Linked DNA regions of Homo sapiens: all the other regions are linked to region 1. The links are contacts of gene promoters, found by promoter capture Hi-C in blood cells and fetal thymus (Javierre and others, 2016). All regions are on one chromosome and are shown on one strand. The core of a region is centred on a gene start or on the middle of the fragment in contact, and the rest is flanking DNA. Distances in the headings are between cores, read along the strand shown.

What was found. Contacts are between HindIII fragments. The CHiCAGO score rates a contact against its expected background, and 5 or more counts as called.
Region 2: a fragment that was not itself captured here is called in contact with the fragment with the promoter of PLEKHG6 in region 1 in 2 of 17 cell types (monocytes and M1 macrophages); the score reaches 6.2 in monocytes.
Region 3: a contact is called between a fragment that was not itself captured here and the fragment with the promoter of PLEKHG6 in region 1, in 3 of 17 cell types (monocytes, neutrophils and naive CD4 T cells). The highest score is 8.4, in monocytes.
Region 4: a contact is called between a fragment that was not itself captured here and the fragment with the promoter of PLEKHG6 in region 1, in 7 of 17 cell types (monocytes, naive CD4 T cells, neutrophils and 4 more). The highest score is 8.7, in monocytes.

What each region holds. Positions count from the first base shown.
Region 1 is chr12:6,307,234-6,311,931 of GRCh38, forward strand. PLEKHG6 (pleckstrin homology and RhoGEF domain containing G6) reads left to right here and starts at 3,449. Exons shown (of 16, transcript NM_001384598.1): 1 at 3,449-3,615. RefSeq lists an enhancer at 2,263-2,983 and a silencer at 3,346-3,395. The HindIII fragment of the contact is 5,964 bases long and covers 1-4,541 here.
Region 2 is chr12:6,083,686-6,088,383 of GRCh38, forward strand. All of the region lies in intron 6 of VWF (von Willebrand factor), which reads right to left. Among named protein-coding and RNA genes, the nearest start is that of VWF, 39 kb to the right of the region's middle. RefSeq lists an enhancer at 1-648. The HindIII fragment of the contact is 2,835 bases long and covers 919-3,753 here.
Region 3 is chr12:6,108,010-6,112,707 of GRCh38, forward strand. VWF (von Willebrand factor) reads right to left here. Exons shown (of 52, transcript NM_000552.5): 4 at 2,857-2,959; 5 at 2,365-2,573. Among named protein-coding and RNA genes, the nearest start is that of VWF, 14 kb to the right of the region's middle. The HindIII fragment of the contact is 3,806 bases long and covers 500-4,305 here.
Region 4 is chr12:6,126,672-6,131,369 of GRCh38, forward strand. No RefSeq gene overlaps it. Among named protein-coding and RNA genes, the nearest start is that of VWF, 4.4 kb to the left of the region's middle. The HindIII fragment of the contact is 1,421 bases long and covers 1,742-3,162 here.

The DNA of each region.
Region 1 (4,698 bases), core at 2,199-4,698:
AGACCCTCAGGAGGCCTTTAGGGAAGTCTGCCCTTCCCCAGTTTCTTTTTAAACATGCTCTTCCCTCCTCCAGAAATGTCCTTTCCTCCTTCTCAGCCCAGCTGACTGCTACTCATCCTTCGAGTCCCAACACAAAGCTCGCCTCCTCTAGAAGCCATCCCTGGCTCCCCTATGTAGTAACCGGTCCCTCCAAAGTGTTCCCACAGCTCCTGACTTAGTCGTTCTTGGTCTAACTTAAATATCAATGTTCTTTTCGCCCATCTGCCTCCCCACTAGTCTGTAAGCCCCTAGAAGTCAGGGCCTCTTATTCTTTTCTATATTCCTACTGTCTTACACATTGCCAGTAAATGTGGAAGGAAGGGGGAGGGGACGAAAGAAGAAACGGGAAGCACCAGTTCTGGCCTGAGGCACCAGAGGCTTTGCCCTGTGGCCTGTCCTCCTGGTATTCATCTGCCTCACATGACCTGGCGCCTCCTAGCTTGAACCCTCAGTTTCTGCCTCGCTCTGGGCAGGGAGGACACAGCTCCCATTAGCTGCCTCCTGTTGCTAGTGCCTGCCAGCCCCTCATTAGCCCAGATGGTCCCCACTTCTGCCCTGAGAGATATGGGCTCAGCAGAGGTCGAGGCACAAATGAGTTTCCCTGACCTTCCTGCCTGGTGAGCCCCTTATGCCAACCCCAGGCAGTTATCCTCAGGCTGCTATTGGACAGAAGCATTTGATCCTCAGAGCTCTGACCGTGGACACACACTTTACCATCAGTTATGGGGTCAATCCAGGGGCCTAATGAGGAGCATCTTACCTGGGAGAAAGTGAGGCATATGACTCAAGCTAGACATGTGAGGAAAGGCTAGGATAACCAGGAATAAAGAGAAGTATCCAGATGGCATACTCTGGTCCAAGGACCAGATGGCCCCTAGCCTCACTTGGCAGAGGCCAAGCCTCCAGCCTCCCAATTCTTTACATTTCATTCAGCTCCCTGAGAATGCTCCCCTCAGCCTGCCATAGGAGTGTGCTCTCCGCAGCACAGAGGAGTCATGGAAGTGGAGACTGTGAGAGTGACAGAAGAGAAGAAACAGAACATGGAGGCCTGCCTCCTAGGCCACACACCTGTGCCCGGCCACACCTCTGGCTTCTAGACTCCAGCTTGCCCTGGGAACCTCTCCTCCCAGGGAGGCTGAAGACAGGCCCTGGGGCAGTAGTGGGTGGAGACTGGACCTCAACGCCTAGAGGGAAGTGAAAGGGTTAACCACCCCGCCACCCACCACCACCTGCCACTGGGCCCCTCTAGCCAGCTCACCCCAGAGCACTGTAAGCCCAGGCTTGTCTTTGGTGCTCTCTCAATTTCATCTTCCCTCTTATTCCTCCTTCCCACTCCTTCTGGGAGACACTGGGAGGAGAAGCTAGGGGCCATTGGCACCAGCTGTCTCTGGGGTGTCATTTAATACTGTCCGTAATCACCACCTCCTCTCCTGGCTTATTAACTCTTTCCCTCATGGCTACTCTTGTCATCCCTGGACATCTCTCTATCTCTGTCTAGCTCTCACCACACACACACACACACACACACACACACACACACACACACACACACACACACACAGTGAATGGGAAGAGGGAAGGGCTAGGAACTAGGCACACTCTGGTTTCTTGCCACTGCAGTTCCTTTCCCACCTGACTTCACCCCCGAAAACTAGTCCCACCACCAGCTGGGCCAGGAGCAGGAGACAGGCTGGTTCAAGGAGCTGGAGGAACAGAGGACACTTCTGAACCAGCAGAGCAATCACACAACAGCAAGCTCAGAGAAAGAGAATCCCAGAGGGCAGATTTGAGGATGGACACAGGGAATACAAAATTAGAAACTGCCCAAAGATATAGATTCCTCCTCCAAACAAAATAGAGTCACCAGAGTCCGAGTGAGGACTAGAACACTCTGATCATGTATGCGTTTCATAGCCTAGATGGGAAAAGGGAATAGAGGCCTTTTCCCCTGGCAACTCAAGGAGATTCTGCTTCTGAAAGTGTTTCCTGAACTTCAGGATGCTCTGAAGAAGTAAGGAGCCGTATCAATCACTGTTGAGTTCATTGGCAGGAAATAGACCACAGTCAGGGTGAGGGGCTGGGAGCCTCAGACCTGCCACCTGCCAACTACAGGGTCTTGGGTTTCATGGTTGTGAGATTATAATGACCACACATCCACAGGACACTTCTATCTCAAATATCCAGTGCTTCTGTCAGACGAGGTGCCATGATTTGGAGAAGTGAAAAGGTGGGGAAACCGAAGCAGGAGGATCGCTTGAACCCAGGAGTTGGAGTCCATCCTGGGCCACACAGCAAGATATTGTCTCTATTTTCTTTTTAAAAAATAAATTTTAAAAATAAAGAAAATAAAGTATGGTCCTTTCATGCAATGCCCAGCATGTGTCAGTCCTTCCACAGCATCTTTTTCTTTTTCTTTCTTTTTTTTTTTTTTTTTTTTTGAGATGGAGTTTCACTCTGTTGCCCAGGCTGGAGTGCAGTAGTGCTGTCTTGGCTCACTGCAACCTCCACCTCCCAGGTTCAAGCGATTCTCCCGCCTCAGCCTCCCAAGTAGCTGGGACTACAGGCGCCCGTCACCATGCCCAGCTAATTTTTGTATTTTTAGTAGAGTCGGGGTTTCACCATATTGGCCAGGCTGGTCTCCATCTCCCGACCTTGTGATCCGCCCGCCTCGGCCTCCCAAAGTGTTGGGATTACAGGCGTGAGCCATCGCGCCTGGCCCCACAGCATCTATTTTAGCAGCCACCGCAAGGGCTGGGTGACCCTGGTGTAGCCGGGAGTGGGCTTATTTGCAGGTGAACTGGGAGGGTGCCCCCACCTGAGTCTTAGGTCATAGGAGAAGTGCGGGTCAGGCCTCAGCTGCCTATCCCTGGAGCAAAGGCAAAGTCCAGGATAGCCTTCCAGTATCACCTTCCACCAGGCAGGCCAGCCGGTCCTCTGAGAGATAAGGCTCACACTTTGGACTCCACACAGCGACGGGGCCCCCTGCCCCTCCAGCTGGCAGGCGGGCTCCCTGCCTGCTTAGGGGTCTAGGCCGAGGCAGGGGGAGGACCGGACGGCCGGCCACTCGCCGCGACCAGCAGGAGAGAGGGGTGCCTGCCACAGGTTGTCACCCTCGCCGCCTCCCCCGGCGGCGCCCCGCCCCTTACTCAGCCCTCATTACTGCAGCGCCTCGCGGGGGTCTGGCCCGGAGTGGAGGGCGCGCGGTCCCAGCCCTCCCGCTCGGCCGGCGGGTGTCGAGTTCAGGTGCGACCGAAAAGGGGAAAGGAGGGCACCGCCACGTGAGCTGTCCTCTCCGGGGAAGGCGGTGGCTGCGTGAGGGCGGGGGCTGCTCGGTCCCCAGGGCCCCGCCCCTCTGCCCCTCTGCCCCGAGCGGTGCTGGCGGTAGGGAGGGGCCAGCCCGGTCCCCGCCCTCCTCGCCCGGACCCGCGCTGCCCGGCTCCCGCGGGCCGCTCGATCCCAGTCCCAGGCTGGGCATCGGGGCTGGCTGGCATCGCCGGGGAGCCGACGGCGACGGGGAGCCCCGCGGGCGGGGAGGGCGGCGCAGGGCAGCGGGTGCGGTGACACCTGTGGGCACAGGTGAGCGGCGGGAGGGCTACGCGGCCCGGGGGCGGGGCGGCCGGGACCCGGGGCCTGGAAGCCGGGGCGAAGGGGAAGGAAGGCCTGGCCTCCCGAAGGCGGGAGGAGGGGAGCCGGGGGCTGGGCTGAGACAGGACCCTGGGTAGGGAGCAGTGCGAGGGAGACAGCGCCCTCAGAGGGAGGACTATTGGGAGGCGGCAGGAGGGACAGCGAACGTTTCCTCCTCTGCTCCTGAATCGGAGGAAGGTAAGGGAGGGCTGAGGCAGGACCTCAGGCCCACCCGGTCGGGGCACAAACACCTGCGCAGCCTTCTTGAGCCCACCGCCCCTTAGGAGGCCTCTCCTCTTCCAGGCCCTGCCCACTCGAGGGCGGGCCCTCCCTCCAGGTTTAGGGGGGAGGGATGGAGCCCCACGCCTGGCCCCCAGCTCCATGGTGGTATTCCCAGAGTCTGGGGAGGACCAAATATATAGCCCGAAACTGGAGAAACTCTAATTCTATTTGGCTGGTCTCTAAGGGCAGTGGCCGGACAGCTGGCCCCACTCACCTCCCTGTCTGTGGTCAGGAGGGTTCAGGTAGGAGATGGGCAAGCCTTTCAGTAAAGGCCAGACAGTAAAGATTAGAGACTTCGCGGCCTACACCGTCTGTCCCAACTAGCAAGAAGCAGTCACAGGTTATTAGGAGACCAGCAGAAGAGGATGGATTCCAACAAAACTGTGTTTATGGACACTGAATTTGAATATCATGTAATATTTACTTGTCCCAAAATATTGGTGGCTTTTTTGCAGGGGGGGCAGCAGTTGTTTCAACTATGTAAATATGTAAAGGCTTACAGGCTGTACAAAAACTGGTGGCAGACTGGGCTGTCTCCAGCCACCCCCACTCCCAGCCCACCCCACCCACCATGGCCTCCCTCCAGCTTTTTCCCAAGCTTTATATGGGGAAGGGGATGGGGTTATATCTAGGTGCAAGGAGAACCCTCCCACCTGGGTGTATCCAGAAAGCCCGAGACCTGTCTGTGACCCTTGTTCCCATTTGAGACCAGTGCAGGAGCTTGTACCCCAAATATGCACACATGTGAGAGAG
Region 2 (4,698 bases), core at 1,086-3,585, 220 kb before region 1:
TCACAGAATCCTCAGTTTTCAATTTCCCACCCCCACGGGGCACAGAGCTGCTAGGAATAAGATTCCATTTCTCAGCCTCCCTTGCAGCTGGGGGCAGCCATATGACTAAGCAATACCCAGTAGGCTATAAGCAGAGGGGTCTTGTGCAACCTCCACCAAGTGTCCTCAAAATAAGGGACTGCTTCTTCCTTAGTCCCTTCTCTTTCTACTGCGGGAATGTAGTTGTGATGCCTGAAGCTTGAGCCGGCGTTTTGGTGCACAAGGTAGAAGCCCCCACTGGGGACAACAGAGAAATAAGACAGAGGGACCCTGGATCCCAACACCATGAGATCTTGCATGGCCCTGGACATCCTACCCCAAACTTCTTTACATGAGAGATAAATAAACTTAGATTGTATAAGTCCTGTCACTCACAGCTGAACCTACTCCTAACTGACACAGACAGCAGTACTTGGACCTACCCTAGATGGTTTCTGCAAAATGAAATCAAATGAGATGACACCAGGAAATCAAATGCTTATAACTATTCTCATTTGCCTGCAATCGGTACTGGCTCCTCAGTTCTCTGCTAAACCATTCTGGCAGGGATGCAAAACAAGGGCCAGCTAATTTGCACACTTCCAGCATCTCCCTGGCTCCAAGGCCCTGCATCAGCTACTCCTGTCTTCTTTCAACTCCTGTCGGCCGTGCCAGGAGCTGCGGGAGAGCAGCTGCCCCAGCCCATCCAGCCATGACCTCACCATGCCTGGGTTGGTGTGCAGGCCCAATTGTGGCCCATCTTAATCACATTTCCAGTTCATTAAAGAAGACCAGGCATCTTCCCTGGAGACATCAGGCGGGTGCAGGGGAGGAGGAGGGAAAGCAAGCACATCTCAGTGGCAGGCAGCAGGAGGAGAGAAAGCAGAGCCAGAGATCTGAAGCTTAGCTATTGTGTTTGCTCCCAAGCAGCTGACAAAGGAGAAGGGAGGGGGACATTCCTAGGACTGAGTGAACAAAGAAAGGAAAGTCTAATACATAGAGTGCAATATTGTTCCACAAGCCCTGATCTTTCTAGCTCTGGGATGGGTGCCCTGCAGCAGCCCCTGGTAGGTATGGAGGCGCCTGGAGTCTGAGCTGCTCCAAAGTAGTGGGTTCAAGAATTCACCCTGCAGCAGGGAATACTTTCTCATTGGTCAGCTGTAATGATGGGTGGGGGAGGGTAGCTGATTCTATTTATAACTTCTGGCCGGCCCAAGATTCCCACCCGCATTCCAAGATTCTGACTCACAAGGACCTGGTGAAACCTGTTGATAGATTTCCACCAAATGGATGGTTTCTGCAGAGCTTGACATTCCTCTCTCTAAGATAGCTGGGGTCCAGTGCTCATGAGAAGTAGGAGACTTGGCCATGGACCTCTCTAAGGGACCCTCCTCACCTTCTCCTTGGGGCTCCTGGAGGCATCTGAGCAGCTTCTAGGGATTAGGGCATGCTGGCTGGATGGACAAGGACGGGGCACCATTCCCTGGTTCCCAGTCTAGGGCCTACCAAGCTCTGGGGATGGAAAGCAGCCCTTTCTGAATCACTCACCCATCCTGCTCCCAGCAAGAAAAAAGCATCAGCTCTGTGACAGGAGCTAATTCCCCTAAGCTGCGCTATCACTTACCATTCACTTGGCGATTTGTCATTTACTAACCCCAGACAGTCTTTCATGGTTTAATTTCTCTTACGTGTCTTGTCCCTTAGTCTACGTTGTATCACGCAAGCCATATGAAACATCTCAGTGAATATGCACTTATGGGCACCATCAGATTCTTGTCCATTCTGTTGCTCACCAGGGAAAAGGAAAAGGGAAAGGAACCCACCTGAGAAATAGTTCGTTAAAGGATTTTGGGAACATTATGTTAGGGAGGCCTTTGAATTGAATGCTTGGGTGCTAGGTCCTTATCCAACTCTCCTCAAGGGCTTGTCAAATGAGCAACATAAAAAGCCAAGTTCCAATGAGAACACATGGACACAGGGAGGGGAACATCACACACCACGGCCTGTGGGCGGGGAGGGGGGGCGCGGGGGGCGGGGGCAAGGAGAGAGCGAGCATTAGGACAAACACCTAATGCATGTGGGGCTTAAAACCTAAATGATGGGTTGATAGGTGCAGCAAACTACCATGGCACATGTATGCCTATGTAACAAACCTGCACGTTCAGCACATGTATCCCAGAACTTAAAGTAAAATTTTAAAAAAAAATTTTTAAAGGCCAAGTTCAAGGGAAATCTGCAAAACCCCATGGTAGCCACTGACCTCTGCCATGAGGCTAGACCCCCAAGGGAACAGTGGCCAAGGTCACCACTGTTTCACCACAACCATTGGCTCCCTGCCCTTCTCCCATCCTGCACTCAGGTGAGCCAGTCTGCTGTAAAGAAAGGGTGCCTATCCATGGGGGGTTCCGTGGAGCTCTGTTTACCTCAGAGAGGGAAGACTGAGAGGCAGAGTAGGAAAGTAACTTACACGAGGACATGCAGAGAATTGGGCCAAACCAGGGACTGCCCCCTGGATTCTTGGACCTCACTAAAGCACTTGAAATAAGTCCTCATTCCTTAGCCTATCAATGACTCAAGAAAGAGAGACTTGAGAGAGCAGTTCTCATCAAAACGGGGAAAGACACGTGTGTACTTATTGCAAACCCCAGCTCTGAGCTTGGTGTCACTGGGGCATAGTGGGTGGGCACCCCAACTCTAAAACCAGGGCCATCATCTGACAACTAACTTCTCTGGGATCCTGCATTCCAAGGGTCCTTCCTTGAGATCTACTGACCTTCTCTGGGCCAGGCTCTCCCCTGACAACTGTACTCTATGAATCACAACTATGCTACCAAGCAAACAAATGTAACAAAATTCTTCCCAGTCTCCAAGAAAAGTCCATTCCAGACCAAAACTGCCAATTAAGTGAATGGAAGAGGCAAGGAGAAGAAGGAGGGAAGGCAGAAGTGGGCCTAGACAGTGAGACCCAAGTCCGCTGGGCTTACATTGCCTCCCTCCATGCCTGTGAATTTCCCTTTCAGAGTCACCATGAGCAGAAATAGCAGAAAGGGCTGGTAGGTCCTTTGCAAATAAAAGGCTTGAGCAATATTTAATGAGAACATGAAGAGTGAACTGCTTTGTCTCTAACGGAATGGGTATTTTCTGTGCCTCTTTGGGCTACTGAGGAGGCATGCTGTGATTATTCAAAGTCAACATGACTGTTTAAAATGTTAGCTCAAGCAGGACAGGTGATTTTCTGGGAGGAAGAGGAATCACAGGTGAACTGCATGCTGTTTCAGAGGAGGCGGAAAGAGTTCTACAAGATAATGGAGGACGCGAGAGAATGTGAAGACATGAATGGCCAAAGAAAATAAGGCTTGTGTTCACCTAATAAACACCAAATTCAGAGACCAGTGGAAAACAGGAAATCTGAGGCTATTCAGTGACTGACAGGACTGCAATTGATGTGAGCTCCTGAGCCAGACCAGGAGAAACCAGACCCAAAGCACCTGCTTCTCCAGTATTCAGGGACACGGAAGGACAGGGCTTTAGCTTCGAACGGGCATACAATGAAAGAAGGAATTTACCAGGGAGTAAAGGAGGGCTGCCTAGGGCTGAGGTCTGCAAGATGGCTGGGAAGCGCCCAGCAAGGGTGTCTCAAAGACTTAACTCTTTTTTTTTTTTTTTTTTTTTTGAGACAGAGTCTCACCCTGTCGCCCAGGCTGGAGTGCAGTGGTGCGATCTCGGCTCACTGCAAGCTTCGCCTCCCGGGTTCACGCCATTCTCCTGCTTCAGCCTCCCGAGTAGCTGGGACTACAGGCGCCCGCCACCACGCCCGGCTAATTTTTTTTTTTTTGTATTGTTAGTAGAGACGGGGCTTCACTGTGTTAGCCAGGATGGTCTCGACCTCCTGACCTCGTGATCCGCCCGCCTCGGCCTCCCAAAGTGCCGGGATTACAGGCTGAGCCCCCGCGCCTGGCCAAGATTTAACTCTTACAGTCAAGGTCACAGCATAACCTGTCTACCCAGACACAGTTTGTGGAGAGCATTCATGCGGCAGGTAGGGGGTTGAAGTAGATATCTGCTAGATTCTCAACCAACTCTGAGTTCTTATGAGCCTAAGATTCCTAACATTGATGAAAAGAAATTTCTTCCACTTCAGACAGCTGTCGGAGGTTGCTGCTGCTGCTGAATGATTCACCACTCTACGGTAGGTAGAGTGGTAACTGGTGCACTCAGTTTCTCAATAGAGACTGATCGCCTTGAGGAGGTGATCCTGAGCGAGGAGATGATGGTCACAGAGACTGTGCCTCCCTGAGGAAGCCAGGCCAACACCATCACATGTCATGATGCAAGCCACACAGTCCACACAGTGGCAACACACCAAGTGACTACTGTTCATATGGTAGACATTGTAGAGGTATATACATGTACATTATATGTTCAGTTATTATGTTTATCTTGGCCGTTTCCCGGCAGGTGGTGGTGAAGTTTCTTGAGAAAGGGGTGCCTTTGGCCGGGCGCGGTGGCTCACGCCTGTAATCCCAACACTTTCGGAGGCCGAGGCGGGCAGATCATGAGATCAGGAGATCGAGACCATCCTGGCTAACACGGTGAAAACCCGTCTCTACTAAAAAATATAAAGAATTAACTGGGCGTGGTGACAGGCGCATGTAGTCCCAGCTACTCGGGAGGCTGAGG
Region 3 (4,698 bases), core at 1,153-3,652, 200 kb before region 1:
CAGGCCAGGCACGGTGACTCACGCCTGTAATCCCAGCACTTTGGGAGGCAGAGGCGGAGAGATCACTTGAGGTCAGGAGTTCAAGACTAGCCTGGCCAACATGCTGAAACCTCATCTCTACTAAAAATACAAAAATTAGCCAGGCGTGGTGACACCTGGATGTAGTCCCAGCTACTCAGGAGGCTGAGGTAGAAGAATCGCTTGAATCTGGGAGGTGGAGGCTGTAGTGAGCTGAGATCTCACCACTGCAATCCGGCCTGGGTGACAGAGCAAGACTCTGTCTTTAAAAAAAAAAAAAAAGAAAGAAAGAAAGAAAGAAATATATACACACACACACACACACACACACACACACACAAAGCAAAATTTGACAGAATTACATGAAGAAAGTGACAAATTCACCACCATTATAGAAAAATTTAGCTCTTTTAGTAATGGGTCATTAATAAGCAGACAAGAAGTAGTACACATACAGAAGATCTGGAAAACACAATTAAAAAGCTTAATTCAAGAAGTATAGGTAGAGTCCTGCACCAATCAGAGAATACATTATTTTTGGGCATACATAGAACACTTGTAAAAAAAAAAAAAAAGGCTGCAAACAAGTCTACAATTTTTTAACTAGGCCACAATTTTTTAACCAAATTTAGAAATCAATTTAGTTACAAATAGGTAACTTTAAAAACTTCAGGCCAGGTACAGTGGCTCACACCTGTAAGCCCAGCACTTTGGGAGGCCGAGGGGGGCAGATCACGAGGTCAGGAGTTGGAGACCACCCTGGCTAACACAGTGAAACCCTGTCTCTACTAAAAATACAAAAAATTAGCCAGGCATGGTGGCGGGTGCCTGTAGTCCCAGCTACTCGGAAGGCTGAGGCAGGAGAATGGCGTGAACCCAGGAGGCAGAGCTTGCAGTGAGCCGAGATCGCGCCACTGCACTCCAGCCTGGGTGACAGAGCGAGACTCCGTCTCAAAAAAAAAAAAAAAAAAATTCAAACTTTTGAATTTGTAAATGTATATAGGTTCAGAAAGAGCTCAAAATGGAAGTTAGAAAATTTAAAACATGAAATATGTTACATATCAAAATTGGTACAGCTGGGCACAGTAACACACACCTATAATTCCACTAGGAAGGCTGAGGCAAGAGGATTCCTTGAGCCCAAGAGTTCAAGATCAGTTTGGGCAACTTAGCAAGACCTTATCTCTAAATACACACACACAGAGACACACAGACACACACACACACGTGTATATATATACATATATATACACACACATATATAATTACATATATACACACATATACAGTATATATACATATTTACACAAACACACACACATATATAGAGTGCAACTAAAGTGATATTTAGAGGGAAATTTATAGCCCTAAATGTACATATCAGACAATAAAATCAGTGCTGGAGAAAACCAAAAAATAAACTATCATGCTATTTTCCAATATGGTACATTCCAATGAAAGGAAGAGTCAATTGTTTCTCTGCATGTTTACTCTCTAATCAGAAAGTGGTTGGGTCATAAGGAAGAAAGATAACATATGTAAGTGTTTAGCTTTGGCAAGGGAACATCACTAATTGAATGTTTATGTAATTGAAATTAAAGAAGATTGAAATATTCATCTTTAGTGTTTTCTTTTTTTTTTGAGACGGAGTCTCGCTCTGTCGCCCAGGCTGGAGTGAAGCGGCACGATCACTGCTCACTGCAAGTTCTCCCTCCCGGGTTCACGCCATTCTCCTGTCTCAGCCTCCCAAGTAGCTGGAACTACAGGCACCCGCCACCACGCCTGGCTAATTTTCTGTATTTTTAGTAGAGACATGGTTTCACCATGTTAGCCAGGATGGTCTCAATCTCCTGACCTCATGATCCGCCTGCCTCGGCCTCCCAAAATGCTGGGATTACAGGGGTAAGCCACTGCGCCCAGCCTAGTGTTTTCACATTATCCATATTACTTTCTATTGCTCGTGAACACACACATGCACACACACATAAACTGGCCTTTTTGGATGGTGTGGAGGACCGACCACTCCATAGATTTTATCCACTCCACTGTAGTGGGCTGAGGAGGATCGACTCAAACTACCCAGCATTGACCAACCATCTGCCACGTGCAAGTTGCTACAGAGAATTCAAAGTTGAACGAAGTCAGCTTTGAGGAGCTCTAAGACCTGGTTTCACTAGAGGTCTAGGCATTGGAATGGAATGCAAAGAGATAAGGTTGGCAACATAAATTGAGGTGAGGTCACAGTGAGGCTTGAATGCCAGGGAAGGCATGTTAGTGAAGGTTTATGAGCAAGGAAATAAAAAGCATGGCCACACTTTAGGGAAATGGTATCCCAGAACATCTTACCTTCTTGGGTCATAAAGTCATCTTCAGCAAAGATGTTAAAGTTGCCACACAGCCCGCAGGTCTTGTTGAAGTATCTGTCTGACAGCAGGACTTGAAAGTTGCCGCTGCCATCGATCCTGGCCACAAAGCCATAGGCCTCACCGGACAGCTTGTAGTACCCAGCCTCAGTTTCTAGATACAGCCCTTTGGAGGCATAGGGCATGGAGACTCTGGAGGGCAAAGGCTAAGTTCAGAAGTGGGCTTCTTGTGCATTTTCTGGATGTCTCTCCCACCTTCTAACCCCAACCCCATGTTGTAGGGTTCAGAACATGGTGCAAAGTGGCTGAGGACCTAGATCAGCAATCGGGAGAGCTGGCTCTCACCCAGCCCTGCTACTCACTTCCTTGGAACATTTGCTTCCATTCTCTGGGCCCCAGCTTCCTCATCTAAAAATGAGGGGGTTGTGTCAGGGGATCCCTAGGGTCCTTTCTAACTCAGACATTGTTGGCTTACCTTTGGTCCCCCTGTGTCACGGTACCATTGACAAACAAATGGATGTCAAAAAATTCCCCAAGATACACGGAGAGGCTCACTCTCTTGCCATTCTGGAAGTCCCCTGAAAGAGAAAAAAGTCAATAGTAGTGATTATTACTCCTCTCAAAAAATGAATACATTGATTAAGAATCATTATCTACGTAACCTTTTCTCAGCAGAAAACGCCCCAAAAAGTCTTTACAAGCGAGCAACAAAAATCTCCCTAAAAATCTCATTTTCTCACCCATTTTTCCATTCATCTAAAAATAATTATTGAGTGACTTCTGGATACATTGCCCTCAGGTAGGCTCTCAAACATCACAAAAGAAAAATCTAAAAGCATGATCTTTTGCTTCTGGGAGTTTACAACCTGCGTATAAATAGAAGACAAACATGCGACAATTGAGTATATTGTAAGGCAGCAAACAAAAAGGCAACACTGTGAGTTACTGGTAACAGGTGCTCTAGGAGAGTGTTATTTATTCATTCATTCATTCACTTATTGAGACAGGGTTGTGCTCTGTTGCCCAGGTTGGGGTGCAGTGATGTGAACATGGCTCGCTGCAGTTTCTGCCTCCTGGGCCCAGGTTATCCTCCCACCTCAGCCTCCAGGGTAACTGGGATCACAAGTATGTACCACCACATCCAGCTAATTTTTTTTTTCTTTTTGTAGAGACAAGATCTCACCGTGTCGCCCAGGCTGGTCTTGAGCTCCTTGGTGCGAGTAATTACAGGCATGAGCCACCCCGCTCTGGCCTAGCAGTGCTATTTAAAATGGTATCGGTCGAGTGCGGTGGCTCACGCCTGTAATCCCAGCACTTTGGGAGGCTGAGGCGGGTGGATCACGAGGTCAGGAGATCGAGACCATCCTGGCTAACACGGTGAAACCCCGTCTCTACTAAAAATATGAAGAAAAAAAAAATTAGCCAGGCGAGGTGGCTGGCGTCTGTGGTCCCAGTTCTTTGGGAGGCTGAGGCAGAAGAACGGCGTGAACCCAGGAGGCGGAGCTTGCAGTGAGCGGAGATCGCGCCACTGCACTCCAGCCTGGGTGACAGAGCAAGACTCTGTCTCAAAAAAAATAAAAAATAAAAATAAATAAATAAATAAAATGGTATCTTAGGACAGCCCAAGTCAGAATCCCTGGGCTGTTTGTTTAAAATGGAGATTCATGAGCTCCACCTAAGTTTGCTGAATTTGATTATCCAGGAGTTTACAGATCGTGTGGGTCAAACGCCTTACACAGCACATGGAATTAATAAGGACACACTAAATGGTTGACAATGGAAATGTCTGAAGATCCAGACACATGATAAAATAGGCTCTGAGAATGGTGTGGTTGTGAGGGCTGAACAGGGTGACAAGGGTGATGGGACGGTGGCCAGCATGAAAGAGGAAACACAGGCAAGACATTTTTCACAGCGTGACCAAAGCTTAGCAAACCTCACCTAGTTTCTAAGAACTGCTACTCGTGGTGGGTCTTTGATATTCAAAGATAACTAATTGGTCATAAGAATCAAAAGACCCAGAAGGGAAAATAGAGAGTCTGGTCTCAAGCCTTGGAGACTGAGAAATTAATGGAAATAGGAAAGATAGGGGCAGCCAGAGAAAACAAAGAGCTGACGTGTGGGGCACAATGCCTTGAGGTCCTGAAGGAATGGGGCATAGGACTCAGGGGTAAAGTTGGTCTTAAAAATGAGCAAATCTCTCTTCTCCTAGAAGGGATAGGGGAGTGTGGGCTTCTTCTTGGCAAGAAGAGGCTAAGATGTCCGTGGAACGAAGCCCAGAAGACCTGGCAGGTCTGTTGACTCAAGGTGTTGCTGT
Region 4 (4,698 bases), core at 1,202-3,701, 180 kb before region 1:
TGTATTTTTAGTAGAGATGGGGTTCCACTATGTTAGCCAGGCTGGTCTCAAACTCCTGACCTCGTGATCTGCCCACCTCGGTCTCCCAAAGTGCTGGGATTACAGGCGTGAGCCACCACGCCCAGTCTAGAATTTTCATCCTTTGCACTCATGCAAATAAAGCTCTCTTGACGATGAATTCAAAATCACAAATTTTTCAACACTTGAGAAAACAATCTACCATGAGCAAGAATTAAATCCCTAAGAATTTCAGATAATAAAATCATCAGAGAAAGATAAAAAGAAAAAAATGAGTGTTTAAAATTATAATAGAGGCTAGGCACGGTGGTTCATGTCTATAATCCTGGCACTTTGGGAGGCTGAGATGGGATAATCGCTTGAGACCAGGAGTTCAAGACCAGCCTGGGCAACACAGCAAGACCCTGTCTTTACAAAGAATAAACTTTTTTCAAGGCAGGGCACGGTGGCTCACGGTGGGTGGATCACAAGGTCAACAGATCAAGACCATCCTGGCCAATATGGTGAAACCCCATCTCTACTAAAAATACAAAAATCAGCTGGGCATGGTGGCACGCACCTGTAGTCCCAGCTACTCTGGAGGCTGAGGCAGGAGAATCGCTTGAACCCGGGAAGCGGAGGCTGCAGTGAGCCAAGATCATGCCACAGCACTCCAGCCTGGTGACCGAGTGAGAGTCCGTTAAAAAAAAAAAAAAAAGAAAGAACAGGAGGAAAACTTGAAAAAGAACTTTAAGGCCAGACGTGGAGGCTCACACCTGTAATCCTAACACTTTGGGAGGCAGAGGCAAGAGGATTGTCTGTGCTCAGTAATTTGAGACTAGCCTACACAACACAGCAAGACCCCATCTCTACAAAAAATAAAAATAAAAAATTAGCTGGGCCTGGCGGTGCATGCCTGTGGTCACAGCTACTCAGGAGGCTGAGGTAGGAGGGAGGACCCCTTGAGCCCAGGAGGTTGAGGTTGCAGTGAGCCATAATCGCGCACTCCAGCCTAGCCAATAGAGTGAGATACTGTCCCAAAAAAAAAAAAAAAGAACTTTAAGAAATGTATATAGTAAATTAATTGAAAAATTCAAAAACACCAGATATTTTTGGGAAAAAAAAAGCTGAAAAATGGTTCTAAAGAAATCACTCAAATATAGAGATGAAAAAATGGAAGAGCAGCCAGGCACAGTGGCTTATGCCTGTAATCCCAGCACTTTGGGAGCCCAAGTAAGGCAGATCACTTGTGGTCAGGAGTTCGAGACCAGCCTGGCCAACGTGTTGAAATCCCATCTCTACTAAAAATACAACTATTAGCCTTGCATGGTGGTGCATGCCTGTAATTCCAGCTATTCAAGAGGCTGGGGCAGGAGGATTGCTTGAACCCAGGAGGCAGAGGTTGCAGTGAGCCAAGATCACACCACTGCACTTTGGCCTGGGTGACAGAGTGAGACTCCATCTCAAAAAAAAAAAAAAAAAAAAAAAAAAATGGAGGCAGAATTAAGAAACATGATAGAATTAGAAGATCCAAAGAGAAGTGCTGAGAGAAGAAGTCCATTTGTGGAGAATTCTATATGCAGTGTCTTAGTTTGAAGTCCCAGAAGCAGACCCTGAGTATTTTAGTGTAGATAATTGATTTGGGAGGACAGGAAGCATCGGCAGGGAAGTGGGAATGTGATACGGGGCAGGGAAAGCAGTCAATAAAAGATGTTTATTATGCCAGCCACCAAGTGGACAAGAAAGCTTCCTTCTGGAGGGAAGTCTGGGAAAATGTAAGATCCATGCCTCTGAATCTTCCCACTCTTGGGTCAGGGAGCAGGAGAGTTTCTACACTTACTCCTTCCTGTCAGTTATTGTCAAGGCTGCTTCAGGAGGCATTCAGCCCTCAACACTTCTGGCCCTCAGGCACGGAGGAGCAGACACTGGTAGTCTAGAAGAAACGGAGAGATGGGGTTAGAGGGCCGTGGCAGAGGGACTGTAACATCTGGTCTACCTGTAAATTATTGTTCAGAGTTGAGGAAACATAGACTTTTTTTTTTTTTTTTTTTTTGGAAAAACAGAGTGGGCTTAACATTAACAGTCCTTTCTGAAGAAACTACTAAAGAAGGAATTTCAGGGAGAAAAAACATTTTTTGTTATTGTTTCTGAGACAGGGTCTCTGTCACCCAGGGTGGAGCGCAGTGACACAGTCACAACTCACTGCAGCCTAAACCTTCTGGGCTCAAGCGATCCTCCCACCTCAGCCTCCCTAGTAGCTGGGACTATGGGCATGTACCACCATACCTGGCTAATTTTTGTATTTTTTTGTAGAGACAGGGTTTTGCCATGTTACCTAGGCTGGTCTCAAACTCCTAGAGCTCCTGGGCTCAAGCAGTCTTCCTGCTTCGGCCTCTCAAAGTGCTGGGATTACAGGTGTGAGCCACCTCGCCCTGCCAGGAAGAAGAAAATTCAGCCTAGAAACAGGATGCCAAGAAAAGGTAAATAAATAAAATAGTAAATCTGGGGGTAAATATGAGCAGGCAGTCATTATATAAAACAATAACAATGGTAATGATAAGTTGGAGAGTTATTAAAAATTAGAACCAAAATACCAGATAGCAATGACATGTAAGACAGGAGTGAAAGTGTATTAAGGTCCTTGCATGGCTCAGAAGGAAGAAACAGGTCATGATCACTTTAGACTTAGTTAAGGCTATACTGCATAGTAAGATTTTAAGGGAGGCTACTGAAAGAATAGAATTGAATGTATGTTTTCCAAACCTATCGAAAAAAAACAAGAAATTTTTAAAAACTAGATTGATCTAGGAGAAAAATGGAAAAAGCAAGACAAATAGTATAAAATGTAAATGCAACAGTACAAAAAATTCAAACAGATCAATAATCAATAATAAAAAGGTAGAGATTATCAAATTGGATTTCTTTAAAAAGGCACACAATCCAGCAATGTTCAAGAGACAGTCCTAAAATATAAACACACAAAGACCGTAAGGAAAAGAAAGGAGAGGCAAGTGATGGCCAAGGAAAAGCGTTTTATACCACTATCACACACAGTGGACCTTAAGATCAAAGTCATCATTAGCACCAAAGAGTAGAAAAAGGTGATACAAAGATCAATGCACCAGGAAGATGGAATCTATAGATTTATGTGCACTTCATAATATAAGCTTAAAATTTATTTTTAAAAACGATTAAATTATAAAGCAGAAAAGCTTTCAGTTTTGTAAAAGTCAACAACACCCAGTTATGGAAAACAAGTAAACAAAACACTTAAGTAACCTATAAAAAGAAGGGAAGGTCCTTGGCCTGAGACACAGAGCATATTTCATACTTATGGTAAAATGGAAGCCACTTTCCCTTTAAAAACCAGAACAAGGCCGGGCGCGGTGGCTCACGCCTGTAATCCCAGCGTTTTGGGAGGCCGAGGCCTGTGGATCACGAGGTCAAGAGATTTAGACCATCCTGGCCAACATGGTGAAACCCCGTCTCTACTAAAAATACAAAAATTAGCTGGGCATGCCGCTGGCGCGCGCCTGTAGTCCCAGCTTCTAGGGAGGGTGACGCAGGATAATTACTTGAACATGCAAGCATGTTCTTTTTTTTTTTTTTTTTTTTTTTTTTTTGAGACTGAGTCTCGCTCTGTAGCCAGGCTGGAGTGCAGTGGTGCGATCTCGGCTCACTGCAATTTCCGTCTCCCAGGTTCATGCCATTCTCCTGCCTCAGCCTCCTGAGTAGCTGGGACTACAGGTGCCTGCCACTACGCCCGGCTAATTTTTTTGTATTTTTAGTAGAGACGGGGTTTCACCGTGTTAGCCAGGATGGTCTCGATCTCCTGACCTCGTGATCCACCCGCCTCAGCCTTCCAAAGTGCTGGGATTACAGGCGTTGGCCACCGCACCCGGCCGACAAGCATGTTCAATGTCATCACTGCTAGTCAATATTGGATCAGATGCCCAGGCCAGCAAAGTAAGAGAAGAAGAGAAAATATGAGGTATGGAGCTTAGGAAAAAGCAAAATAGTTATTATTTGAAGATATGAATGTGTACATAGAAAAATTCAAAAGAATCTACCTAAGAGTTTAGAAGTTTGCCGCAAGATTCCTTTTTAAAATCTATTATGTTCCCATATAGTTATAAAATACAATCTTTGAAGTGGCCCTATTAGTAAAGTAGCAATTACTGCAGATACTTAAGAATAAATAGAATAGGCCGGGCGTGGTGGCTCACACATATAATCCCAGCATTTTGGGAGGCCGAGGTGGGCGGATCACTTGAGGTCGGGAGTTTGTGACCAGCCTTGCCAACATGGTGAAACCCCGTCTCTACTAAAAATACAAAAAATTAGCCAGGTGTGGTGGCGCATGCCTGTAATCCCATCTATTGGGGAGACTGAGGCAGGAGAATCGTTTGAACCAGAGAGGCAGAGGTTGCAGTGAGCCTAGATCATGCCTGGACAACAAAGCAAGACTCTGTCTCAAAAAAAAAAAAACAAAAAAACAAAAACAAAAAAAAAACTGTCCAATATTACAGAGAAAATCATAAATCTTGTCCCAAGACATAAAAGAAAACCCAATGAAGAGACATGCTGTGTTCATATTTACTAAGTCACAATATTGTAAAGATGCCAAATATCCTCAGATTAATCAATAAATTAAATACAATTTCAATCCAACAGGGTTTTTCATATAATTAGACAAGCTGA